Regions from separate parts of the Homo sapiens genome. Here regions 2, 3 and 4 are each linked to region 1. Evidence: promoter capture Hi-C in human tissues and cell types (Jung and others, 2019). All regions are on one chromosome and are shown on one strand. Each heading gives the region's core, a stretch centred on a gene start or on the middle of the fragment in contact. The rest is flanking DNA. Distances are from core to core; before and after follow the strand shown. Region 1 holds the start of IRS1 (insulin receptor substrate 1). Region 2 has its middle 300 kb from the start of MIR5702. Region 3 has its middle 260 kb from the start of MIR5702. Region 4 has its middle 130 kb from the start of MIR5702.

The links. Contacts are between HindIII fragments. The study calls those that stand out against the background at their distance.
Region 2: a contact is called between a fragment that was not itself captured here and the fragment with the promoter of IRS1 in region 1, in 1 of the 25 tissues and cell types used here (mesendoderm cells).
Region 3: a contact is called between a fragment that was not itself captured here and the fragment with the promoter of IRS1 in region 1, in 1 of the 25 tissues and cell types used here (heart left ventricle).
Region 4: a fragment that was not itself captured here is called in contact with the fragment with the promoter of IRS1 in region 1 in 1 of the 25 tissues and cell types used here (mesenchymal stem cells).

Annotation. Positions count from the first base shown.
Region 1 is chr2:226,797,022-226,803,611 of GRCh38, forward strand. IRS1 (insulin receptor substrate 1) reads right to left here and starts at 2,799. Exons shown (of 2, transcript NM_005544.3): 1 at 1-2,799. The coding sequence starts at 1,717. It also overlaps a transcript of RHBDD1 not described here. RefSeq lists an enhancer at 1-887 and silencers at 1,618-1,667, 2,658-3,077, 3,098-3,167, 4,128-4,337. The HindIII fragment of the contact is 12,102 bases long and covers 1-6,590 here.
Region 2 is chr2:226,352,590-226,359,179 of GRCh38, forward strand. No RefSeq gene overlaps it. Among named protein-coding and RNA genes, the nearest start is that of MIR5702, 300 kb to the right of the region's middle. The HindIII fragment of the contact is 3,567 bases long and covers 1,961-5,527 here.
Region 3 is chr2:226,394,682-226,401,271 of GRCh38, forward strand. No RefSeq gene overlaps it. Among named protein-coding and RNA genes, the nearest start is that of MIR5702, 260 kb to the right of the region's middle. The HindIII fragment of the contact is 3,720 bases long and covers 1,031-4,750 here.
Region 4 is chr2:226,524,635-226,531,224 of GRCh38, forward strand. No RefSeq gene overlaps it. Among named protein-coding and RNA genes, the nearest start is that of MIR5702, 130 kb to the right of the region's middle. The HindIII fragment of the contact is 4,194 bases long and covers 1,227-5,420 here.

The DNA of each region.
Region 1 (6,590 bases), core at 1,549-4,048:
GCCTGTGTCCCGGCAGTCGGCCTCCACTGCCACCTCCTGGTGGGTAGGCAGGCATCATCTCTGTGTACTCCTCAATGGAAGCCACTGAGGACTGGGACGGGGTCTTCTGGTGGGTAATGGTAGGGGATGTGCCTGCCGAGTGAGTTCTCTTTCGGAACCGATTATCCAGATCTGCAGCACTGGCTGCTTCATCCCCAGCCAAGGCTGGACTCGTGCCCAAGCCTGTTCCTGGGGTGCAGCGGTGGCCATTGCCACCCCGAGACAAAATGTAGTGACCGTTGGGGGCGGTCAGGGTGGAGGGCCCCTTGCCACCCATGCAGATATAGTTGCTTAGCTCCTCCTCACCGCGGGCTGGTGGGGTGTGGCCCAGGGAATCCGGAGTGACACTGCGGAAGGAACTCCGGAAATCGCAGGGACTGGAGCCATACTCATCCGAGGAGATGAAACCGCCATCGCTGGGGGAACCAGACACCGAAGCACTAGATCGCCGTGGGAAGAGACAATCCGAGGTGGAGCCATGGCCACTGGTGCTACTGGACGACAGACTGACCGGGCTGGTGGCCGAAGGCGAGCAGCGGGAAGCCGGCATGGGGATGGAGCGGCTGTGGTTGAGCGGGGGGTGCAGCCGGGCGCTGCCCCGATGCCGGTGGGCGTGGGTTCTGTTGGTGCTGGGACTCACAGGGCTGCCGTCCACCGAGGCTGGGCGGGACATGGTGCCTTCGCCGTCACTGGAGGCGCGGACACGGAAGGAGCCTGGCTTCCCGCCCACCATGCTGGCCGGGGAGGTGGCGGTGATGCTCTCAGTGCGTGATCGGCGGGTCAGCCCCACCTGGCTGGGCGGGGGATTGTTGAGATGGTGCCGGCGCAGGGGGACGCTGATGGGGTTAGAGCAGTTGGACGAGGACTGGCTCTTGCTGCGAGGGCGGAACTCATCACTCATGGCCCGCATGGCCTCCAGGATGGTCTCGTGCATGTTCTGGGCCACCACAGAGTCATCCACCTGCATCCAGAACTCCCCGGGCCCCGTCACGGCAGAACGGCCCACCTCGATGAAGAAGAAGTTTTCCGAGTGGCCACAGCGCCTGATGTTCATCAGCTGCAGCACCACGGCCGCTGCCTCCGAGTTCAGCTTCACGAAGCTGATGGTCTTGCTGGTCAGGCAAAGGCGGTAGATACCAATCAGGTTCTTTGTCTGACCCAGGCCCTTGGGCTTCAGGATCACTTGCCAGACCTCTTTGAATGCGGGTCCTGGGGGCACGTCACCGTAGCTCAAGTCCTCCCCAGCCTCACCAAGGCCGGAGCTGCCGCTGCAGCTGCCCCCACCACCTCCCGCCCCGAGGGCCGCAGCTCCGTCGTGGTGGCCCTTAGCACGGTTGTGCAGCTGTAGGAGAGCCTGGTACCAGCTGTCTTGCTCGGCCTCGCTGTCCGCCGCGATGGCAAAGTGCTCGTCCCGGGTGTAGAGAGCCACCAGGTGCTTGTTCTTGGAGTCAGCCCGCTTGTTGATGTTGAAGCAGCTCTCAAGGGGGATCGAGCGTTTGGGGGCGCTCGACTTGTGCCGCCACTTCTTCTCGTTCTCGTAGTACTCGAGGCGCGCCGGGCCCCCAGCCTCGCTGGCCGCGCGCAGTACGAAGAAGCGTTTGTGCATGCTCTTGGGTTTGCGCAGGTAGCCCACCTTGCGCACGTCCGAGAAGCCATCGCTCTCCGGAGGGCTCGCCATGCTGCCACCGCCACCACCAACGCTGAGCAGAGGGAGGCTCCGAAAAACAACCGGGTGGGGGGCGGAGGCTCCTCGCCGCGGCCCGGCACATGCAAACAGGGCTGGAGGCAGCAGAAACCCCGACTCTGAAATCCACGCCGCCCCCCGCGCCGGGGAGGGGCAGCTGAAGGAGGACGCAGCTGCTGAGCCCAGGAGAGAGCCCGACCGGAGTTTTCGGGCGCTTCACGCCCGGCGGGGAGGCAGTGCGTCCGGGGTGAGGGCAGCCCCGATCCTCCGAGAGCCAAGTCTCCTCTCAGCCGCCGCCGCCACCAGGAAGGAGCGAAGATGCATCTCTCGTCGCCCCGGCTGGAGTCCGGCACAGGGAGGCGACAGTCGGGGGTCCCTGCGGTGCCCCTCCAGGAGCGCGCGCGCGCGCGCGCCTTCCCTCCTGAGTTCCCCTCTGGAAGCAGCGATTCCCGAGGCAAATTAAATATCCTTGGGCAGGGGGAGGCGGGTTGCCAAGTCCCAACGTTGCACGGGGTTCTCCCTCCTCCTTCGCCTCCTCCCACCCCCCAACCGTCCCAGCCGCCACCAGCCGCCCAAATACCAGCTCAGTCGCAGAGACCGCGGCGCTGCGGCTGTTGCTGTTGCTGCTGCTGCTGCTGCTGCTGCTGCCGCCGCCCGCGGGCGCGTCCTCTGCAGCCCCCATCCGGGCCCATCTCGGCGGGTGGAGAAAGTGGCTTTTCCATGCGAAACGATACCGGGCAGCCACTGCAGCTGGGGACCGGCCGGAGGGACAGACTCATCCCTGCCCCTCGCTCCAGGCGGCTGGGGAGGAGGGGAGGGGACAAGGGCGAGAGGGGATGGGGGAGGTTTGGGAAGGGTTCGGGGAAGACGCCTGTTCCTCGGGAGGCGCTGCCGCTGCAGTTACTTCTCCCCTCCTCCCTCCTCCTCCTCCTCCTCGGAGAGTTGCCGAGAGCCCCAACCAAAACAAGCGGCGGCGTCTGGCTCTGCGCGCCGGCCCCCTCCGACCGCGCCGCCGTCTCACTCGGAGGAGAAAAACACGTGACGGAGCCTCCGCGCTCGGCAGCCGGGCAGCCGCCGCCGGGAGGCTCCCGCCCGGGTCTCTACATTCCGGGCCGAGCCCGCCCCGCGCCCGCCCCTCTCCGCCCCCCAGCCGTGCTGCAGCGGCGCCCGCGCCGACCCCGGCGCAGCGCTAGGACAGCGCCCCTGCGCGGCCGCCAGCTCCGGCGCAGCGCCTCCCTACACGCGCGCCAACCGGGGCGCCCCCGGCCCGCAGGAATCCCCGCGGCGGGCGCAGGCGGGGGTGTTTGGGTGGCTACCCGAAAGCACGAGGGGAGTCTGGGAAAACGGGAGGGGGCGAGCTCGGGAAGACGCAGGAGTGAGGGTGGGGGGCCACGGGGGGGCACTGCGGCTACAGAGCCCCGAGTGGGAGGCCGGGGGGAGGCGGGGGCGCCGGAGCTGGGCTGCCTCTTACCTATCAGGTAAGACTGACCCACGGGAGGGAGGTTTCTAGTCAAGGCTGTTTCCCCCAGGAAATTTAAAAGCTAGATTTCGGCTTCAGGGCGATAGGCCATGGTGAGGGGATCTGTATTTTTTAAGGTTTTTCTAAAGGACTTCTGGGCCAGCCTTCCACCTTGGGATCCCCAGATTTGCTGCCGTGAGGTACCTGGAAGGAACAGAGGGACGCCCAAGGGCAGTGACTGGGGGCAGTTATGGTCACTACAAAAGGAGAACAGGGATCCCCAGGAAGTGTCTCACGTCCGGCGCTGTGGAATTAGTTGCTGATCAAGTAGGGAGAAAATGTAAATATCACCTTTTCTCCTGCTCCCCTTGCCCATCCGTGTGACGGGGGGACTCACACCTAAGGCTGAGGGCATGGGGGAGGGGAAATGAGAGGTCCCTTATCATATTCCGAAGTCTATCCGTGACTTTAAAAAGCTGTTAGGGACCTTCAGAGGGTTCATAAGGCCAAAACCCTACTGTGCAAATATTGGCTGAAATGTTTGTTTCACACACAGCTCCCACACCCATTGAACCACCCTATAAGTTTTTAACCTTGACCACAAGGATAACAGGGAGAAAACAAGGATGGTGCCAGCTCAACTGTACAGGAAAATGGTTACTTCATGAGTGGACCAGATCAGCAGCCTGGGTCTACTTGAAGCGCCCCTTTCAGGGTCACCTTGCGGTATCAGTCTCCCCACAAACAAACGCTCCCCAGAGTTTTTTTATTTTTTAAGCCGACCTATAAACAAGCAGTTTGTCCCTGCTTGCTCGCCTGGCACTAAGGACCCACAGAGATGTCACTCGGTTTAATGCTGTCTCATTTTGATGCCTGGCCCGTTTGGGGTTGCCGCCCCTTTACTACGCCGGGACCCTCCTCGGCCTCAGGCTCCCAGGCACTGCAGGATGCTGGCTGGGCACTCAGCAGTCGAGGCGCTGGGCATGCTCAGTGGCTGGGACCCGGCGGGCCGCGGGGGAGCGCGCCTCGGCCCAATGCGGCTGAGGGGCGGAGCGAGTTTCCCGGGGAGGCCTGCTGATTGGTGGGATGGCCTGTTTTTCAAGCCTTGCACTGCAGAGGGAAGGTGGGGGTAGAAGGGTTGAGGGTACCAAGGTAGGTTGCAAAGCGTAGTAAAAAAAGAAAAAGAAGATGATGATGATGAAGGAGAAAAAGAACCATAGGCGCCATTCAGGGGTGTGCGATACGTAAATTAGGGGGATTGGGCATCTGCAGAGGGGCTCCTCCCCACCCAAGCCTGGGAGCCTCTCGTTTCTCCTCTCCCCTTCCTGTTCCCGGTCGTCATGCAGCCTCATCTAAACCTGGTTAATCTATAATTTGAGTACACATGTTGAATTGAAAGCCCTCCCTTCTTTTCCTCTGACAGCTTGGTGATGTGGGCACACGTGCCCACTACAGCAAGGCTATTAATAGCAGATATTTGGAAATGGAAGCGAGGCGGCACTCACAGTGACCGAAATTCTGGGGGTATAGAGTGCCTTACAGGGGGTAGGGCAGGGAGGTGCAGAATAAAGAAGCCTGAAGTTGGTGGAAAAGTGTAACTGTGTGCCTGGTTTTACCCTAGACAAGAAAAAAGAGAGATTATAAAAGGGTTGTTTACTAGTAACAATGTAATCCAGATAAGGCCAAAGGGCTTTTCACAGGTTTGATGTTTAGCGCTGGGATGGGGGTAGTGGAGTAATTAACATTTTGTAAGACAACAAATCAAATCCATGGACATTTACTTTTCAAATGGCCCTGTCCCTACCTCCGTCCCTCCACCCCCCACCCCCCAAAAAAAGCTAAATAAAGGTACTGTACCTCTATGGGGGAAAAATACTCTTTTCTGGAAGGAGGGGAGGGTTGGAAAATTTATTTGCACGTACCTCACAATTATCTTCATAGGAAGGATTTTGATCATAAAAAGCTAATTATGATAATAAACCTTTTAAAAAATATATCTCTCAGTGTTAAAGCATTTCTGCTTTAAAAAACACAATTTCAGTTGCTAAATATTCGATAAAAATTATGAAATAAGCCTCACTGCTGTGACAAATTATGTTCAGACCAATGGGTTTCCTATGGAAGATAATCACTGATCATAGGATATTAGTGCCATTTTTTCTACTTGCTGATGTTTTACTACCAATTTAAAGGTGGTTAATATTTGTTATAATTATACTACAGTAAATTCAATTGTTCTCTACAATTGTTTTATTAATGGGCTAACTGGAAATTCATTTACATTTGGTTCATGTAATATATAGAATAGAAAGAGACGCGTTTGTGGGAACTCACTGAAGTAATGCTGAGCAGGTATGGGTATTATTCTGTCACCTAAGCTAAATTAGTCTTTTGGTGTATTGTAATGAAATACACTGTATGAAAAATTTACTCCCCACTGAAAATTCACGGAACAGAAGAACAAGCTATTACCAAAATCTGTTGCTCAATGCTGCCATCTATAGGAGAGTTAGAGCCGATTTGTGTAATATGCTAAGGTTCATTTTAAAAGAGGGCTAAAATAGTGATTTCATCACAACATTGCAACAGCTACGTTGATGTCACTAATACAGTCCTAATTCAAGGAGTTAAGGGTTTACATGCTATGGACGCACTTTGGGGCAATAGGTCTACAACTAGCTTTAAAATTGAGTTATTGGTTTATGTATGATACTATCAGGAAAATAATGCAAAATTTATAGATTATTACATATATCTGTAAAGTGCTTGAGTTGGGTGGATGTAAAACTAAACATTTCAAAATTATAAAACACTTTTTGTATCAAAACATATGTTTTCCTTAAGATGTATGGGTCATAACTGGAGGAGCTATTTAAATACTGGCGTCTCTTAGAATTAATTTTGGCAATTTAGAACAGTGCTTGAAGGACAATTGAATGTGGATTTTCTCACTTTAAGATCTGTTTTTATTTTAAGATGGCTCAATAGTAATAAGCATTTGAATGCTTACTCTGCAAGGCAATATGAAATAGATAAAAAGACAGCTTCTTACAGCTTTGATGGGGTAATAAGAGAGTACAAAATAACAATAGTTGATGACTAAAATGTGTGTGTGTGTGTGTGTGTGTGTGAGAGAGAGAGAGAGAGATGTCAAATAACAAGTGGTATTTACTTTCATGATGGATGAAATAACTACTTAATTTTTACAGAAGAGAGGAGCCTTAAGCTTGAACTTGAAATGGGCTATAACTCAGATAAATGGCAATTATTTTTTCCCACTCAAGTTTTTTGGAACACCTACTTGTGTTAGGCACTAGGCTGGACACTGAGGATTTAGATATCAAAGACATGCTGCCCACAGGAAACTTACATCGAAAATGGCAGATGAACACAATTGCAGAGCACTAT
Region 2 (6,590 bases), core at 2,494-4,993, 440 kb before region 1:
TCTTTGGTGCTTTTCTGTGTGTTTAAAATTTTCAACATGCAAATCTTTTGGGATTGCATTACAGATTCATAGTTATTTTCAAAGAGAATTAAGAAACTTATCTGCTGGTTTTTTGCATCTAGAAATAATGCTTTCAGAACATGCTGATAATCATATGCTTTGGCCAATCAGACCAATCAAGTGTCCCAGTTCTGTCCAGTTCTACCACATGCACAGTGACATGCCTGCCACTGGATTACTGTCATCTGCATTGCCTCTGTAGTATCCCACCCGTAAAGGATAATGTGCAACTTTTCCAAGGGACTCAGCATGGTCTCTTTCCCTTGGAGCAACAACAGAAAGAGGCATGATAGATAGTATCAAGAAATAGTTACCTACTTTGAATAATCAAGGACTTTATAACCTGAAAGAATATTGCCTTCACATAGACAGTAAGATTTAATTCAGTGTTTTGGAGCCCAGCAAACAAGTTCCCTGAGAGAACGCTTTCTTTAAACACAGCAACTCAGGCAACTTGCACATATATGAACCAAGAAGGCCTGGAACATTCAACAAGCTGGGTACAAGAGGAGCCACAAGAGCAAACTAAGCACACTTAAAAATAACAATACGGATAAGAAGGATAATAATTATAATCTCTCTGGTGAGATAGAAGATCACTGTGACCACCAGACACAATGCCAAATATCCTGTTGGCAGGGTGCTTCCTTGGCCCTTGTGCATTTGTGAGCCCAGAGCCAGGCTGCAGGCAGGCACCAGCCCCAGCTTTCACTTGCTCACCATCAAGTGACTGCCATGAGCTCAGGTTACAAATTTGTTTATATTTAGATGAACAGGTGTGTGGCTCAGTTCTAAATCAAGGCCGTGTCCTGCAGTTGTCATCTTAATGTGCTTCATATAGCTGGAATGATTTAACGTGGAAAAGGGCGACACTCCTACCCTGACTTACGCTTAGGGCTGCACCCAGCTTGTGGAAATTTTGTCATAAATTCTGTTCGAGATTCTGTGCATCATTCCCTCTTTGCATAAATCTGCAAAGGTTTTTTGTACTGGTTGGTGGTTTCCTGCAGGAAAAGGAATGAGAAGCCCAGGTTTCTAATGTGGCTTCATTACAAGAGCAGGTTACCTCTTCCCTCTTACCTTTGCAACCTGGGGATATTTTAAAATTGCCGATTTCCAGTTGGCCCCTCATGAATACACCAAGATTGTTGTGAAACTCAAATGATACCATTTAGGTGACTGTGCTTCATAAACACTAAAGTAGTCCACAAATGCAAAATCATATGATGCATATAAAAGAGCTTTATGAAGCTAAATACACTCTACAGATGCAAACTAGTACAGTGGATGAAAGTGTCCTGCAAGCAACGTTATAAATGTCAGAAACACGAGGGAATTCAAGACCAGGAGTTCTCAAAGATAGTGGCTTTTCAGTCAGCTTCTTCAATTGTCATTTTATTAAGAATGCTGATGAAAATATAACATATAAGGAAGTGGAAACACTGGTTACACTGTAATTATTCTGTTAAGTATTTGAGCTCTGGTACTTACACAGGTTTTCATTCTAAGAATTCCACATACCGGGTGACAGAGATAGGCTGTGTATCATTCTGTAACAACCCTAAAAGAAGTAGCTACAAAGTGGGAGGCTTTTCAATGAGGGAAGGAAAATAAAATTTTGTTCCCATTCAGATTTCACTTCTGTTTATATTATCATAAGGATCATTATGTGTTATTAAAAGTGATATAAGTATTTCATACAAGAAATAATTCTGACTTTTTATAAAGTAGCTTCATCATAGGTATCTCTTAATAAAAAGTTTCCTGTCTACCAAGTGACTCCTTTTGCCCATATTCTAGTGGACCTTCCACTAAATAAGTGAACAAATGCACAAGGATATTGGCCTTCCCAAGCATGCATGACACCATGGGCCTTGGAATGCACTTGAGTTTTTCTTGGTCATTCTATCCTCACTTATGTTTAAAGTCTCCTTAATTGCTCTGAAATACAGGCAAGTAGAGACAGATGTGTCACTACAGATATGCTTACCTAACAGACACAGGATTCCCAGCCTCAGAAAATCCCTGGGAGGGCCTCTAGTTCTCCCCTTCCCCCACAACAGGAAATCTCCCTGCAACTGCCTGGCCATGGCTGCCCTCCAAGTCAGATCTCTACTCAGCCAGGCCCCTGCTTAGTGCTGTGAGCTGCCTGGGGGATCTGGCCCCAGAGTCTTGTGCACTGACCAATCTCCTATGTTTTGGGAGGGTTGGTTGGTTGGTTGGTTGGTTGGTTGGTTGGTTGGTTGGTTTGGTTAGTTGGTTTTGAGATAGAGTCTTGCTCTGCCACCCAGGATAAAGTGCAGTGGCGTGACCTCGGCTCACTGCAACCTCTGTCTCCCAGGTTGAAGCGATTCTCATGTCTTAGCCTCCCAAGTAGCAGAGACTACAGGTGCATGCCACCAAGCCTGGCTACTTTTCTTTTTTTTTTTTTTTTTTTTTGTATTTTTAGTAGAATTGGGGTTTCACCATGTTGGCCAGGCTCGTCTCGAACTCCTGATCTCAAGTGATCCACCCGCCACGGCCTCCCAGCGTCCTGGGATTATAGGCATGAGTCACTGTGCCCAGTCCAATTTCCTCTGTATTTGAGCGAAGCTCAGACTGCAGGTGCTAATCTATTAGAGCCTGTAGAAGTCCTAATTCCTCTGTCTCTCTTTCCTGCTAGGAAGCCCTTGATGTTTTATCATAATGAAAGGGAAGAAATCTCCATTTGCTGCTGCCAACCTGGGCAGTGGCATGTCTAAAATGGTTTCAGTTAGATCTCAGGGATTTGCTTTTAAAGAAGTAAAACATTTCTCCTGCCTACTGTTACTTATCTTTTTAATCCAGAGGTATAAAAATTTTAGATTATTTAAAACAAGTGAGTAATGAAATATGCATTTTAAACAGATCATAACAAACTAAAGAAGGACACTAATGAGACTGATGGCCATCAGTGGAAGATGGTGGGGAAAAATAGAGGTGGGGTGATAGAAGCAGACAAATGGAGACAGTGGAGTGATGGAGAGAGAAGGCCAGCAGAAAGAATAACATGCAAACAGAGGAGGAGGACAGAATGAGAGTGAAGAAAGAAGGAAGGAAAGAAAAGAGGAAGGAGAGGAAAGGAGGAAAGAAGGAAGGAAGGGAAGAAGAGAGGGAGGAAGAAGGTAAAAGCCAACAGAAAGACAGAATTGCAAACAAGGAGGAGGACAGAGAGGGAGTGAAGAAAGGAAGCAAAGAGGATGCAAAGGAAGGAAGGAAGGAAGGAAATAAGGAACAAAGAAAGGAAAGAGAGGAGAGAGAAAGAGAAAGGGAGAAAGGAAGAAAGGAAGGGAAGGAGGGAGGAAGGAAAGAAAGAAGGAAGAAAAAAAGAGACAGAGGGAAGGGGGAGGAGCAAGTTTGAAGTGGGTGATTGGTCAGAGGTAAATTACTTATTAGACTCCAGGTAACTTGCTATAATAATAATTGTTAATAATAACATTTATTGAATGTTTACTATCTCCCAGATACTATTCTAAGTACTTTACATGTAATACTCATTACAACCCTATGAGTTTGACTCAATAATTATAATTTTAGCCATCAGTCTCAGGCATAAGAAAGCCATACCCTAGAACTCTAGGTAATGACTGGCAGAGCCAGGGTTCAAGCTCAGGTAGGCTGGCTTTGTACCTCTTGGCCACTTGTCTCTAGTCCCCTGCAGCTGCCTCTTATTCTCCAGGCTAACCATGCATTGCACTACCACTGAGATTTCCATGAGCCTTGCAGAAGTTGAAAGCAACACTTATCTAGTGGTGTTAGCAGATTGCAAAGTCCATTGTAGAATTTAAGTTTATTTTCTTCAGTGATGTTTCAAAACATACTTTAGAAGTTTACAGATGCTTGGCAATTTTCTAGCTGTTTCAAGTTCCTTCAACAGTTTCAAGATTTTTAATTGCCTTATTGTTTTGCTTAGAGTGATCAGAATTGCTTTATTCCTTGCAAACTAGAGGTTTTAAATAAAACCAGCACTTATTTCTACTTCAGAACAAATTCTTGTTTTGTGGTCTAGTTAAGACTAAGTAGGAAATGTGAGAGAAAAGTTTTTAAAAGCTAGGAATAAATGTTACATGTATATAATAAACGCAACCAGTAAATGTTTAGTGAATAAATGAAATTGATTAAGTATTGCTTGGTAACAGCTTTTAAACTACCTCCAGCAGTTTAAAGAAAACCTGCTACAACCTGTTCTAGAAACGCCTTCTGAAAATACTTGCCAGTAGAATGGTTCCTAATGATTAAGATAAAAGAAGTATCACTTATTTTCTATGAGTCTGCTGAAATTAAGCTTAGCATCCATCCAGGAAAATTGAGTTATTTTAGGTACTTTAAACAGAGGAGCATTAATGGAAGCAATTAATTATTTAAAGAGATGTTGCATAAACATGAGATGCAGGAGCAAAAAGGAAACAGGGCTCATACCCAGAGAGTGAGAACAGATGCCCACCACTGCCCTTGAGCTGCAGTTCACAGGCTACATCCACTGCTGAGCTGTTGGAGTTGCTGTCAGTTTCAAGAAAGCAAGTAGAGCAGGGCAACTGCAGAGCTGAGAAGCCATTTAGATCTCACCTGTATAGAGGGTGTCTAGATGAGTGCATTACTACAGCAAAAGTATATACACACCACCCTTCCATCTACCTAAAACCCCTTGGTTGGACCTTTTAAGTAGCCTGTACACACCAATTGTTCTCCAGAAAATAAAAAATAGAAGGCATGCAGGAATTTGGTGAAGGGCATTTTATAATTGTCTAGGTACTTAAAAATAAAACTAGGGAGCGTTTTTCACTGCCTACAGGAGTTTTTAAATATGTTTTCTTGTCTATTCTATGTTTGATTTTTAACATTGTCAACATTAATTTTTTTTTGCCTTAACCTTAACAACCACTTTTCAAATTTGGTGACTTACCACATTTTCCTTCATCTTATACAGAGAATAATACTTACCTGCCCTTTAAATGGATTATGAAAGTAATTATTGAGTGAGGGGTATTAAGCTGTTAGGAAAGAGTTTATTAAAGAACAATTCTGATTGTAAAGTGCCACCAAGACTCTAAGAATATCATACTAAGTCACTTAATGCAGTCAGAGATGATGTTCACATGTTTTATGATAGCTCTTACAGATAGCAGTTATTTCAAGGAGATTGCTTTATTCTGAACCCTTCAGCCGATTTTGAGGTTGATGGCATTTAATTTTATGTATGTATTCAGAGAGAAATGAAATGGCTTGATGGTGACATACATTTCAGGATTTCTCTTTTATTGGATTGAAAAGCAGGTACTTAGACTTGCATTAACGTTTGAAGCAAAGAAAGCTAGGATCGGCCCAAGTTTCATGTTAGGAAAAACAGCGACACTTTGGAAATTAATTAAGCTTATCTGGAACTCCAGCTGCATTACATTAAATTTGATCAAATGCTGAATGTCATCTGCAGTCAAGCTAATTTCACTAAGGGCCAAGAAGATGGTGTTACATTGAGGCGGGGCTAGTCAAGTGAATCTTGTCCATCAGCACAGTGGGGAATCTGCTAAGCTTATAGATTTAAAATCCTCAAAACAATTTCCCTCTCCTTAGAGGTTTTCCTAAATGCATGTGGATTTGGGCTGAGATTCCTCCCCGCTGGATCCACTAAAAAGACTTTTCCTCTCTCTTGTTGACAGTTCTCAACCTGTACATAAAATACATTCAAGAAAGTGTGATGTGAAGGGTTAGGTTAGTTCATGGATCATGGCATTTAAGAGGAAGAATCACCCTTGAAAGGTTAAGTTCAGGATTTGCTTGCACGTGTGAGATAAATATTGACTAGTAATCAGGAAGTAGGCAACATTAGTAAGATTATTTTTAAAATAAACCAACCTCTACAGTACAGAATGGGGGTGACTTTCAGTGAATTCTTGAAAATTCCTTTGAAGTGGCATAGCATCATGATTAGAAACATGGGAGCTGGACACAGGTGGCTTGGGTTTACATCCTTGCTCTATCACTTAGTAAATGTAAGATTTAGAGTGAATTGCTTAACCATTTTGGGGCTCAGTTTCCCTATAAAATGAATATAAAATGAAACCCTATAAAATGAATATAACAATAGTGCCTATTTCACAGAGTTATTGCAAGGATTAAACTAGTTAAAATCTGTAAAGAGCTTGGAATGGTGCTTGGCACATAGTAAGCACTACATACGTGTTTGTTAAATAAATTCCTTTCTCGAGACAAGAACCTCACTCCTAGCTTTGTACACATAATGCACGCAAGCTCCAATGCTGAAGCAATCAATCCTTCTGAGAAAGAAAATCACAGATTCCCAGAGCCTTATTTTCAGAATCGCTCATGTTGCTTCCAGACATTGGCTATTTAATCCTTCCAGAACAACCGAGAGAATTTACACAAATAAACTTCTCCTTTTACAGAAGAGAATGCTGCTGTACAGGAAGATCAAGCGTTTTCCTTGAGATGACCCACGGAACTCAACCCTTTCTCCATGTTTATTCCTTTACTATATCACTTGCTGTTGGGCA
Region 3 (6,590 bases), core at 1,641-4,140, 400 kb before region 1:
AATACAGTTGCAAAATGGTATTTTTTGGCTGGGTGCAGTGGCTCATGCCTGTGATCCCAGCACTTTGGGAGGCTGAGGTGGGCAGATCACTTGAGGCCAGGAGTTCAAGACCAGCCTGGCCAACATGGCGAAACCCATCTCTACTAAAACTACAGAAAATTCGCCAGGTGTGGTGGCATGCACCTGTAGTCCCAGCTGCTTGAGAGGCTGAGGTATGAGACTCGCTTGAACCCGGCAAGTGGAGGTTGCAGGGAGCCAAGAAGTCACCAGTGAACTCCAGCCTGGGCAACAGAGTAAAACCCTGTCTCAAGAGAAAAGAAAAAGAGATGGTATTTTTTTCAAAATGGTTTTTATTATAATTACTATTGTTATTGTTTGCAAAATAGCAATTAAAAGAAAACATGGATGAAGAGAAAGCAACAATGATATTTGATGAAAATGCCCTTTCCCTTACTTATCTTTCTATAAAGTTATGTTGCACTTTCAGATTTTATTTGTATTCAGAATTTGAGGAGATTTTCTCAGTGGTAACATATTGATAATTGTATGTTTTCATCAATGACAATGCTTTATAATTAAAAATTTACTGGAAAGCTTTTTTTAAAAAATAACATATTTCTCATTTCTAACTATACCATATAAGAAATGATGATTACATATTAGGAGAGGAATTTATCCTCATCTTATTTTCAGCTCCAACAGCTCCTATCTAAGAAAAGCATTAATATCATTGCCATGCTTCTTTAAATTTGTATGTGTGTGCACGTGTGTGTTTCTGTACAAACATGACCCTCTGTTGAGCTCCTTTTATGTGTAACACACTATTCCAAGTTTTTAATCAAATTATCCCATTTCATTCCTAAGAATTCTGAAAGCTGTTTTATCCCTACTTAACACTGGGAACTCAAGCTTGGATAATTTAAATAACAACTCTAATGTCATACATGTGATAACAGATGAAGCTCAAATTTGAATCTGCTTTTATTTGACTCTAAATCCCTTTCATCTAAATTTTCAAATTGTTCTCATACACATAATTTCATTGGAATATCCCAGTATCAATATGAAGCAGAAAAATGAAATAAAATTCTAATCAATGTGGGAATTTGACACACACACACACACACACACACACACGAGAGAAAACTGAAGCTTGATGAGCTTAATTACCTAAGATTTGCTGTGAACCCAGGTCTTATACTCCCAAAACATTTTGATTTTATTAAATACTTTAGAAATTGGAGATTCTTTTATTTTTAAAAGAATAAAACTACACGAAGTAAAATCAAAATCAAACTCCACTATGCAGACATTTTTTATTTCTCTAGATCACCCATGAATCTATCATCCTCCCTATGTCCAAGAAACACGTCTGCCTTACGGAAAAGACTACCTCTCAATACAGAATCTGAGAAGCTATGGCACAGAGTTATAACCCAGGCTCCCGCAATCAGATGAATCTTCCCTGAACTATGAATCTCATGATAAAGATGCAAGAAAACAGACTCCACATAGAATCCATTGTGGTGGACTGGGGACAGGGCAGAAGCAGCAGAATGAGCACCTGCATCCAGTTTGTAGGGACAGAAATGCCCAGAAGGTGTTGATGGCACTGGGCGCCATGATTGTGTGCAGTGGTAATGCTGTAATAGCTTTATGTGTAGTTTAGGGCATTGCTCCTGATTGCATATCCCACAAGTCAGAACTCTGGTCCTCTTGAAGACTTAATGAGCTGTTACGTATTTCCTAACAAATTTCTTTGCTACTTAAATTAGCTCATTTCTGTTGCTTGCCATTAATAACGCTGTCTGATACACCCATGATTACAACAAATTTCTTATGGGAGTCTTATTTGGCTGTTTAAACAGGTATAACTCCTGAGTTTAAATATACATCGGAGTACTCTTTTTAATATTGGTAAGGAAAATGTCTTTGTCACAAGGAGAAAGGAATAAACATATCACAAAGCAGCCAAGTTCTTTAATCTCACAGATCTACTACAGATGTTTAATAAAACTTCTCATCATTCCTTTTGTAAGAGTGTCCTAGCAAATATGTTATTACTACGGGGAAATTTTTAAGCATAAGTGATTGAAATGACTACAGGATTTTCTGGCATCTTGAAAACAGTAACTGCAACCAAAAGTATTTTGAAATTAACAGTAATATCCAGTCACCCTCAGGAAATTCTACTTTTTAATCTTTCACCTTCAAAATTATGACCTTTAGTGTCTGCTCTTTATATGTGGGTGTGTGTTCCTTTGATTTTAATGTTTAATCAGCTTAAGGGATGACTTTCAGTTGGAAATCTGGAATTTTCTCTCTTGATGCTATTAGGATTTTAATTACAAGCTGTATTTTCCAGAATGTCTAGGCCTATAAAAACATTTTTACAATAGTTTTTTCTGGAAAAAAACTAAACATGTTACTAGGAAAATTAATCTTTATTTTGTTGGTGAACAGTAATGTATATACTGTTTTTCTTGAATGAATAAATTAGGAGGCTCCTGGAAATTTCACTGGCTATGAATTACCTTTATCTTCCTCAATAATTTAGCCAAAATTCAATTTTTTAGTTGCTTTATGTCTTCTTGCTTTGTTTAGAAAAAGAAAAAGAAAGAATGAGAAAATGAAGGAATATAGGAAGCCAGTCAGGGTTAGGTAAACTATCCCTTCAAAGTGCCACTGGAGGGCCTGGGAAAGTTTCTGTTCATCTTTGGCTAGACCATGATATCTATAAGACCTTCCTTGTTCCACTATCCTCCATATCTGTGTCTTACCTACCTCTTCACATCCCAGGCAGAATCACTGATTTTGTTCTACCAGCTTTCTATTTTTTTTCTTCCCCATGGCTCTGTTGAATCAAATGACTCTCCCAGTACCTGTACACTTGCACTTGGCCTAGGGACTCACATTCTGCTTAATGTCTTTCCAAATGGGATAGCTGTTTATTCATTTTTGTTGTTGTTCATTTTTTTTCCTTCAATCAAAGTTTCTCATCTACCCACTATGAGCCAAGCATTGTGTAGGTGTTCTACATCCCATGGTGGACAAAATAAACATGGACTTCACTATTACAGAATGTATGACTTAGTAAAGACTTTTAAGTAAAATAACACATAAACAATTATATAGATAGTGGTACCTTCTATGAAGGAAAAGAACAGAGAGCCAAAGAAAAGTTGGAAAATGTATAGTAACAGAGGAAGCTTAATTTATGTTGAAAGATCAGTGAGGATCTATCAGAGGGGGTCACAAGCTAAAACCTGAATGATTAGAAAGGCCCAGCCATACTGTGAGTTAGCCAAGGTGAAGGTCTGCACAGGAACCTTCAATGAGCCAAGAGTTTTGTGCTTTGGGGAACTGAAATAAAGGCAGTGGCTAGAGCAGCAAAATAAATAAGAGTTCAAACTGAAGTTCTAGAGTCCAGCCGGGGCTATACCCTGCATGGTCTTGTAGACAGAAGTTAGGAGTATAAAATTATTCGAAGTATAATAGTAAGCTACAGAATAATTTTGTACAAGCAAGTGACATTATCCAATTAATATTTAAAAGACTATTCACAATGTGGAGAATATGCTTTGAGGGTATCTGCTTTACCTATGAACTCAAAATTTAGTAAGTACAAAAAATTCTATGGACCTGGAGGATTTCTCTTCTCCGACTGCTCTCAGGAGCAACCGTGCAGCAGGTTGTGATACTGGTGCCAGCATGTCATGGCAAATCATCTCAAATGAATCTGTTTTTCTCTCCACTGTCATTTGGAAACTGCTTTTGAGGCCATAATAGCATTTTGAGAAAGAAGTAGCAGTGTGGCAAAATAGGCATTGTGGGATTATTAGCCACCTTGTGCCAACAGGACAAGCTTGAGTCACGTTCCATGAATTCAACTTCTACTTGATGAAGGAGCACCCATGGCAACGCTTGGCTTCATGGCTCAGTCAATCAGATGAATCTGAATGCATGATGGACATAGCTTGGATAGCATGGTCACCTTGCATTTTGTCTCTATGAAGTCCCAGTAACAAGCTAGGGTCTGTCTCCTTTAAAAAACAATTACTTGCTGAGAAAACATGGCTTTGCTCCAAACCTCTGTAGAGCTTGCCACATGCTCAAAACAACAAACATAGTTTCCACAGATACTGTATCAGTTAGGTAAGACCACTGCTATAGCAAATAACTCCCAATTCTCACTAGTTTAACACAATAAAAATTAATTGTTTAATGTCCCACTGCAATGTGAGTTATTTGAGGGCAGTGAGAAGAGAAGACTCTGCTCTAAGCTCCTTTTGCCTCTCACTCCACCACATCCTCAGAGACCTCCTGATTCCAACAGCAGTTAGGGAAAGGGGTTTTGGGAATTTTAGTGGGCTAGACCCATAAGCTATACACATCATTTCTGTTAACCCCACTGGGTGGAACTCAGTCACTTGACTGCACCTAAATTGGAAGGAAGACGGGAACATGTAGTCTAGATGTGTGACCAGGAAGAAGGGAATGTGAAAATGGATGAGCACTAGCAGCCATTTGGCAAATATTTGAGCTCATTAGATCCAATGAGTCATAAAGGAATTGGTGACAACATCTTATTAGGTTCTAATTACATTATTCTTTCTAAACAACTCTGAGCTTTGCCAAGTTAAAAGACATTTTATCAATGTTCTATATTTATGATAAGCAATGGCTGCAGATTGCTGATCAGACCACACACAGAACAACATCCTTCCCTAGGCCCAGTGTTCTATTACCACAGAAAGAACTTTACACCAAAGCTCCACTCCAAATCTTTAGACCCATCAGTGCCCATATCTCCCTCTTCTTGGCCATTTTTGGCTTCTAGCCAACATACAAGTCCTATTGTAATCCACTCTCTCCCAAACTTGGATTCAAACCCTGCTTCATCAAACTCATCTTCCCTTTGGTCTAGCACAATGCAGGTCTGACATGATCTATGCAAGAAGAGTGGGAAGATAATTGGGTAGGAGGAGCCTCATACCATAGTGAGGTTCTGAAAAATCTTGTAGGGCTAATAAAAGCCCCTAAGCGAAGGATGACCAGGAGAGGACTCCCATGTCTGGCAGAACTGGTCTGGGTCCAGTTCTCTCATCCTGCCTAGTTATTGGTTGAGAGCAGCCAGAGGCAAGAGTGACCTTGCTGTGAATGTCTCAATGGATCCCAAAGTTCTGGTAGCCAGAGGCTGCTAGATGACTCTGTTTCCTATAGCAATTCTATTGAAAAGAGAGATGAGAGACATAACCCCATGGCTGCCACGTGGGTCCTGTCAAATTCTAGTATCTCTTCTGTTTTGTCTACAGTAAGAGTCAACACAAATCTCTGTTTCTTCCTTACACCAACCTCATATTTATTATGTTACATCTAAACTGCTGCTGATGCTATTCATAATATCAGCTAAGACCAAATTACCAAAGTTCTCTTACCTGGAATTCTGTCTATGGTAGGCCAATGAAGCATACCTCCACAAGGACCAGACCAGTCTTTTGGAAGAGAATAATTGCCTTAATTGCTAGTTGCCTTCATTCTATCTTGAGGAAAGAATACAGTTGATACTCAATGCTCTACAGAAATCAAAAGTGTAACTAAAGGGGACAAATGAGGTCAAATGGGAGCATCTAAGCTTTCAAGGATCCCGTTCTTCTTGTCTAGCTGAAGTTCAGTCTAAGATGCAAGAGAATACCTTCAAACCCATATGTAGATCCCAAACTACTATCCTGAATTTTAAAAATATTCAAACCCTCCTAAGCATGACTGCTTCTCCCTTCTTGTCCTATCCTAGCTAATGATCCTACCATCCATTTCCAATTGCCCAGGCTAGAAACCTAGGAACCACTCAAGACTATACCCTTTCAATCCTCCCCTACCCTCAAGCAATCACCAAATCAAAGGATTCCATCTTTCATATCTCTTATATCTACCCTCCTCACAATTCACTTGGATTAGTACATAAGTCTTCTCTCCATTCTTGCCTCCAGGATTGGCACTTTTCCTTTACTGTACTGCCACAGTGATATTTTCTAATTGACAATCTGGTAATAAAACTGTGATAAATCCTTCAATGACTCCCTGCAGATTTTAGGATCAAGTTCTAACAGGAGGTGAGTGCCCAAGGCACTTGTGTTAGTCCATTCTCATGCTGCTGGGAAAAAATACTCAAGACTGGGTAATTTATTTTAAAAAGAGGTTTAATTGATTCACAGATCTGAATGGCTGGGGAGGCCTCAGGAAACTTACAATCATGGTGGAAGGCACCTCTTCACAGGGTGACAGGAGAGAGAATGAGTACCAAGTGAAGGAGGAAGCCCCTTGTAAAACCATCAGATCTTGTGAGAACTCATGCATTATCATGAGAGCAGCATGGGGGAACCACCCCCATGATTCAATTATCTCCACCAGGTCTTGCCCTTGACATGTGGGAATTATTACAACTCAAGGTAAGATTTGGATGGGGACAGAGAGCCAAACCCTATCAGCACTAAAGGTCTAGATCTGCCAATATTCCTAATCTGGTCTCTTCCTACTCTCTCTTAAGTCCCTCATTCCAGGCATACTAAGTGCTTCAGTCTCTCAAATGG
Region 4 (6,590 bases), core at 2,074-4,573, 270 kb before region 1:
CTAATGACCTCATCTTAACTTGATTACATCTGCAAAGAACTTATTTCCAAATAAGGTCACATTCACAAGTACCAGAGGTTAAGATTTCAACATATCTTTTTGGAGGACACAATTTCACTCATAACAATGACTAGGACCTTTAGTACATTTATCTCATCACTTAGAGAATCTGGATAAAGGGATATCAGAATTTTGCCTTCCAGTAAATCAGATAAAGTGTGCCATCCATGGAGAGGATACAGTGAGGGAGAAGAGAAGAGCAGAGACCTTCAATAAAGATAGGTTCTTATTCTATGAGCAATACTCAAAGAAAGCAAGATTTAAAAAGAAGCACAGTTAATTTTAACCTTAAAATGAATGAACAAGGATTTACTGGGACAGTTTTGACATCACCTCTGTGTTCATTTAACACTTTATGTGTCAATCTAACTATGAATATAAGTTATTTAATATGCCAAAATAAATTTGCATGTTTCCCTCATATATAAAATTATGTTCACCTGAAGGAAACAGCTGATTGATGGTTAAATATTAAACATGCAAGAAAAGAGAAAATATGTTCAATAATCATAATTTAAAAATGCAGGTTGAAAAAAAATGCTTTTGCCTATCAAATTTTGTTGTTGTTGTTGTTTGAGATGGAGTCTCCCTCTGTCGCCAGGCAGGAGTGCAGCGGCACGACCTAGGCTTACTGCAACCTCCACCTCCTGGGTTCAAGCTGTTCTCCTGCCTCAGCCTCCCAAGTAGCTGGGACTACAGATGCCTGCCACCATGCCCAGCTAATTTTTGTATTTTTAGTAGAGACGGGGTTTCACCATATTGGCCAGGATGGTCTTGATCTCCTGACCTCATGATCTGGCCGCCTCGGCCTCCCAAAGTGCTGGGATTACAGGTATAAGCCACTGCACCCGGCCAAATTGGATATTTTTATGCCCATCAAACTGGTAAAAAAACTTTAAGAACTCCATAGTATGCATTGTTATTAAGGTTGGTGCAAAAGTAATTGCAGTTTTTGCCGTTGAAAGTGATACAAATTAGTGATACAAGTGATACAAGATCGAGCCACTGCACTCCAGCTGGGCGACAGAGCGAGACTCTGTCTCAAAAAAAAAAAAAATCAACTTCAGAAAAATAAAGAAAGAAGTATTCACATCTGGCAAAGTAGCATCAAAGTGGACTTCCAACTCTTACTTTAGCAAAAGAAGATCTGACTTAGGGCACATTAGGGGCTTTTTGCAGGAATGGAGCCTAGTTTCAGTAAAAACTTTTAGATATCTGTGTTTGGACATAGATCTCACAACTTAAATATAAAATATTTAGCCAATTTGGCCCAAATGGTTATAATAAAATCATGAAATCCTAATTAATTGGTCTTTCAAAAGACCAATGAATTAACTACAGTTGTACAAAGACACTACTTTATTCTCTATTAGTCTTTTATTTCTTTAAAATCAAAGAACAGAATCACCATAAATGAGAAAGCAGCATCCATTTTTGACTTGTGTATTAGGCAGGCCCCACAAAAACATCATAAAGGAGTAAGGTATAAGATGTTATTCCAAAAGTCTTCTGTTGTTTCATGTCGTATATTTAGAGCAATAAACATTGTTTTGTCTATTTTGAGGTTTGATTTCTCTCCTAGAAAATATGATATTTCATTAAACCAGTATGTGTTCATGGTTTCTTTTCATCTCTTTTTAAATCTCCTCCAGTCATTAAGTTGCCCAGAAGCCTTTCCAGATAAGAAAGCAAAGGATATTTGAAAATAACATAAAACCAGACCAAATTCCTATGCACTAAAAAACCTAGGAACGCATAAATTATATAAATTGTGTGTTCTTGTTACACACAGTTAAAATTACTGTCGGTGCCAGCTGTCTTTACATCAGAGAGGATATTTTGATCTCTGCTGAGCCCTATCTGTGTAATTATTTAACATTGTTCTTTAGCCCTCTCAACTTCCATTTATCAGTGCCAACATCCAGGGTGCCTTCCAGAAAAGAGTAAAACAGTTGATTTTGTTTTTCTGATTTATTTATTAAGACTTTCATATTAATGCCCAAAATATTATACAATATGCAAAACTATTTAAATCTATAAGTTATGTTAACACAAATTAAAACCAAAACAAAATGTATCAAAATTGAGTCAGAGTACAAATAGGACATAGGACTATGATGTGTATTATTTAGACTGAAGCTGACTTTGCAGGAAGCCAAAACATCCAGTTGATTCAATTAAAGAAAAGAGAAACTCAGTTGATCCAGATGTCTGGCATCATAAAATCCAAACACAGGAATGATTGATTGAATCTTTGACGTGATTCACCAGATGTTTTAGCCTCTTGGAGACAGACTAAAAGGAAAGGATTCGGATGGGTTTCAAATTCCTTCATTTCTCCCTGGGTACCCAGTGTGAATCTTCTTTGTTTACAATTTAGTTACCTTCTCCAACTACTCCCTGAACCGTTTAGTAATGTTATCTCACATTCTTATTCAGACTGAATCTTGGGATATTCCAATCAAGTAACAGATTCAGAACCAAGTGGCAATATATAAACATTCTGGTTTCCTTTCTTTCTAAATATATAGATAGCTTCATGATTTCTTTTTTTTTTTCCTCTGGAAAGACCACATGTAAAATCTAATAGGATCAGCTGACATGATAGGTCCAGGAGAAAAATAGTTGGCCCTTGAACACCATGGGTTAAAGCATCTCAATTCCACTTATACATGTTGAGATAGCAAGACCAACCCCCACCTCCTTCTCCTCCCTGGCCTACTCAATGTGAAGACTACAAGGATGAAGACCTTTATGATGATAAACTTCCACTTAATGAACAGTAAATATATTATCTCTTATGATTTTAACATTTCTTTTCTCCAGCTTACTTTATTGTAAGAATATAGTACATAATACATATAACACACAAAATATTTATTCATAAACATTTATGTTATTGGGAAGGCTTCTGGTCAACAGCAGGCCATTTGTAGTTAAGTTCTGGGAATGTCAAAAGTATGTTACATGTGGATTTTCAACTGCACAGGGTGGTTGGCACCCGTAACTCTCATGTTGTTCAAATGTCAAATGTATTCTTGAGAGGCATTATTAGCTTGATTTCTCTGCAGTGTGAACATTGGCTGTTCAGATTGCCTATAATCAGCTTACTTCATATTAAATCACTAATGAGTTGATGGGGAGATAAACTCTCTCTCAAAGGAAATAAATTAGAAACTGACAATTACAGAAACAAAGAGAAGTGAATGTAAGAGGGTCTCTTCATAGAACCACCCATGGGATGAGGAGGTTTGCCTGAATTCTGAATTGTAAAAGCCCAGCTCTTATTTGGAGCATGCTAAAGGGCAGAAGCCACCCAGGGTGTAGGCAGAAAGATTCCATCCTGTGTGTAACAATTTGAAAGAAAGAAAATTGATGATTCTATTATATCCCCACCTTTGGCCTGAATTTCCCATCCCTGAGAGCAATGTGACGACAACGCTCACGTTATATAGCTGGGTACAGCGTCCCGTGCATTCTTTCAATTGATTAGCTTAATAATTCTTTAAGAAATGTATTTTTAACCCCATTTCACTTAAAAAGATAAAGGTTTGCCTAAGGACACACAACAGTGAGCCATGATCCAGGACACAGATATTCCAACTGCTAGTCTTACTCAGTACCACGACTGACTCTGCAAATTAGTTATAAAAGAAACATTGAGACTTGTTCCAGGAAGACACTAGGTAAAATACACACCCAAGAAGTTTCTTTCCCAGAACATTATGAACATAGCACCCAAGAGTTTTATTTATCAGATTAGTCAGTCAACACCTTGAACTTTAAAGGAGGTAAACACAGAACAAGCCTACTTGGGATCCAAAAACTACTATAAAATCTCATGTATTTGAAGATAAACTTTGCTGAGCCAAACTTATAATTATGAACTCAAATATTCTGGAAAACAAATTTTAAAACATTTCTGCCCCAAAGAGCAATATACTGAGGGAAAAGCCCATGGTATTTCTTCTCTCTCTGAATTTCTAGAATTCTGTTATCTAGTTAGGTTTTAACGTGCCATATAATGTCTATTCCTAGAAGGCATGCTGCCTGAAGATATATTTTGATGTTCTAAGTTAAATTGCAAAGAGTAACAGCAGTGTAGGGGATATGTAATCTATGGGCTTTATCCTGCCTGAAAGGGCCCCAGATTCAACACTCTACCACTGATTTCATCTGCTTTCTCAGTCAACATCTTTTTAAAGCACTGTATCCTCAGCCAACCATCAAACTTCTTAGCTTTTTCACCCATAATCAACCCATCTCAAAAATCACCACCATCACTGAAGCTTTGAGAAGAAAAATCTCCTCTTTGGTGAACACTTTTGTTTACCCAGCATCATTTTGTTTTTGTTTGTTAACAAGTGTTGCTCCTCCACTTGGCCAGGTATTTATGATTTGATTCTACTCCCCTCTCCTGGCATAAGGCTAAACACATGGCTAAATTCAACCAATCAGAGAATAGCGTTCTCAAGTCAAGCAATTGGTTTTGGCAAGGACTTTGATCCATACCGAGCCAAAGAGTGTCCGTCCAAGGGCTTTTGCTGGCACTATCAGAGAGGAGGGTTTCTCTCTTCTCTGGTGTCAATAACTATAAGGAAAACATGTCTAGGAAAGAGAATGTGAAACATACCTGAGGAAAAGCCAATAAAGTGGAAAACAGAGCTGAAGATGGAACGAAAAACATCATCTGACCTCCCAGCCCACCTATCCCTAAAAGATATCACAACTACCTTTGATTCTTCAGTTACATACATGAGACCATAAATGCATTTTCTTTTCCTTAGGGTACTGTGAGTTGGGCTTCAAATTTTTATAATCAAGACTTCTGTCCAACATACTCTTCAACCTAACCTTTAAGCATTCCCAGTACTCAAATTCCTGAACTCTTTAAATTATAGTGAGGCCAAACTCATTTTAAACAATGGAGCTTTGGAATCACAGGACTTTTAATTGACATGGCAGCCATGAAAATGTGACTCGATCTATCACAATAAGGAAAGTACTTGATTGATGTCTCCAGCTGCAATGTCCAGAATCTACCACCACTTTTGATCCAAAGCCTTGCTTCTCACAAGCTGCTCCCAGCCAATGACTGAATGACACAGGGCTACTTAGTAAGCCACTCTTACTAGAGGTGGAACAGCTCCGAAGAGTGGCATTGGTTGGAGAGCTCACTGTCACCCTAGTCCTAGGCTTTCTGGCTTTTATTCCTAAACAGTCATACTGATTTCTATTACAGATGGTTACAAACTGTGTTTTCCACCAGAAAATGGCAATGTTGTTCCAAAGGCAAAATAGAGCAAAACATAATGACTAATGAAGGGGCCATTTGTTGTTATCTCTAGGGGTTCAATGCCAAAATGCAAGAAGGAAAAAGAGAGCTACTGCAGGTATTCTGCAAGAGGTGAAAACAACTTCTGCCTTTTCCCCTGTCTTATTGCCTTCTTTGTTTTCTTTTTTTTTTTTTTTCACTCAGTGTGGTGGCAGGAGCAGGTTCAAGCTACATGTGAAGAGGTAATAAATGTCATGTTAACAGCATGCTTCCAAAGAGGGCTTTATTTCATGACTACCCACTTATGCAAAACACATGGACTTCACCTTGCCCTATAGAAATGTTTTTCATTCCACATTTATATCCTTAACGGAACAAATGAAACCTTGTAATGAAAATTACACATATGTAAATGAACTACTATATTGATATGCTATATTAATTATGCCATATTAAATTATCTCAAATAATATAGATGCTTCCATATTTTAGTGTACATTAAGCAAGATCTGCCTATAATTCAGTGTAGATGTTGAGGACTGAATTTCTTTTTTAAAAAGATGGTGTTTTCCTGTCCAAGCATTCATTTTCATGGCTTCAAAACTACCTAAGCATAGGTAGCCAAAATAAATACCTTATCCTTTACAGGGGGAAATGAAATGGAAATTTAAATTTAAATTGAGAAATCCTTGCCTGTTAAAGTTGTGTTTGTTTTTGTGAAAATAAATAAGACACCTATCATTTACATGCTTCAGTATGAAACACTTTTACCTCTCTCTGTTGCCAATATCTAGTGAGCTAAACCCATAGTCACAAATGGCCAGCTTGATGATTCTATTTATGGCCAAAATGTTGTTATTTGAAATGATAAAGAACATCCCATCATGGCTAGTATTTCAGCTTTCTATGGCTAAGTGTGTTCACTAAACATATAATAAAATCAACACATTTATTGTCATAGATAAGACCTCTAATTAGTGAATAAAATTCAAATTCACAGGGGTTCTTTTGCGTGCGGTAGGGGTAGTGGTGGAAGGCTTCTCACAGAATACTGTATCATCTGCTTGAAAACTAAAAAATACCAACATCGTCAAAAACCTTCTGAGATTCCAATCATTGATTTAAATAAATAAATAAATACTCATTAAAATGCAAGCTTTCAAAATGACATCGAATTTGGCATATGTACAAAAGCATCTGGGAGAATTAAAATCAAAGTTTGAGTTACATGGGCTCTGGTTGACTTTATGCTGCT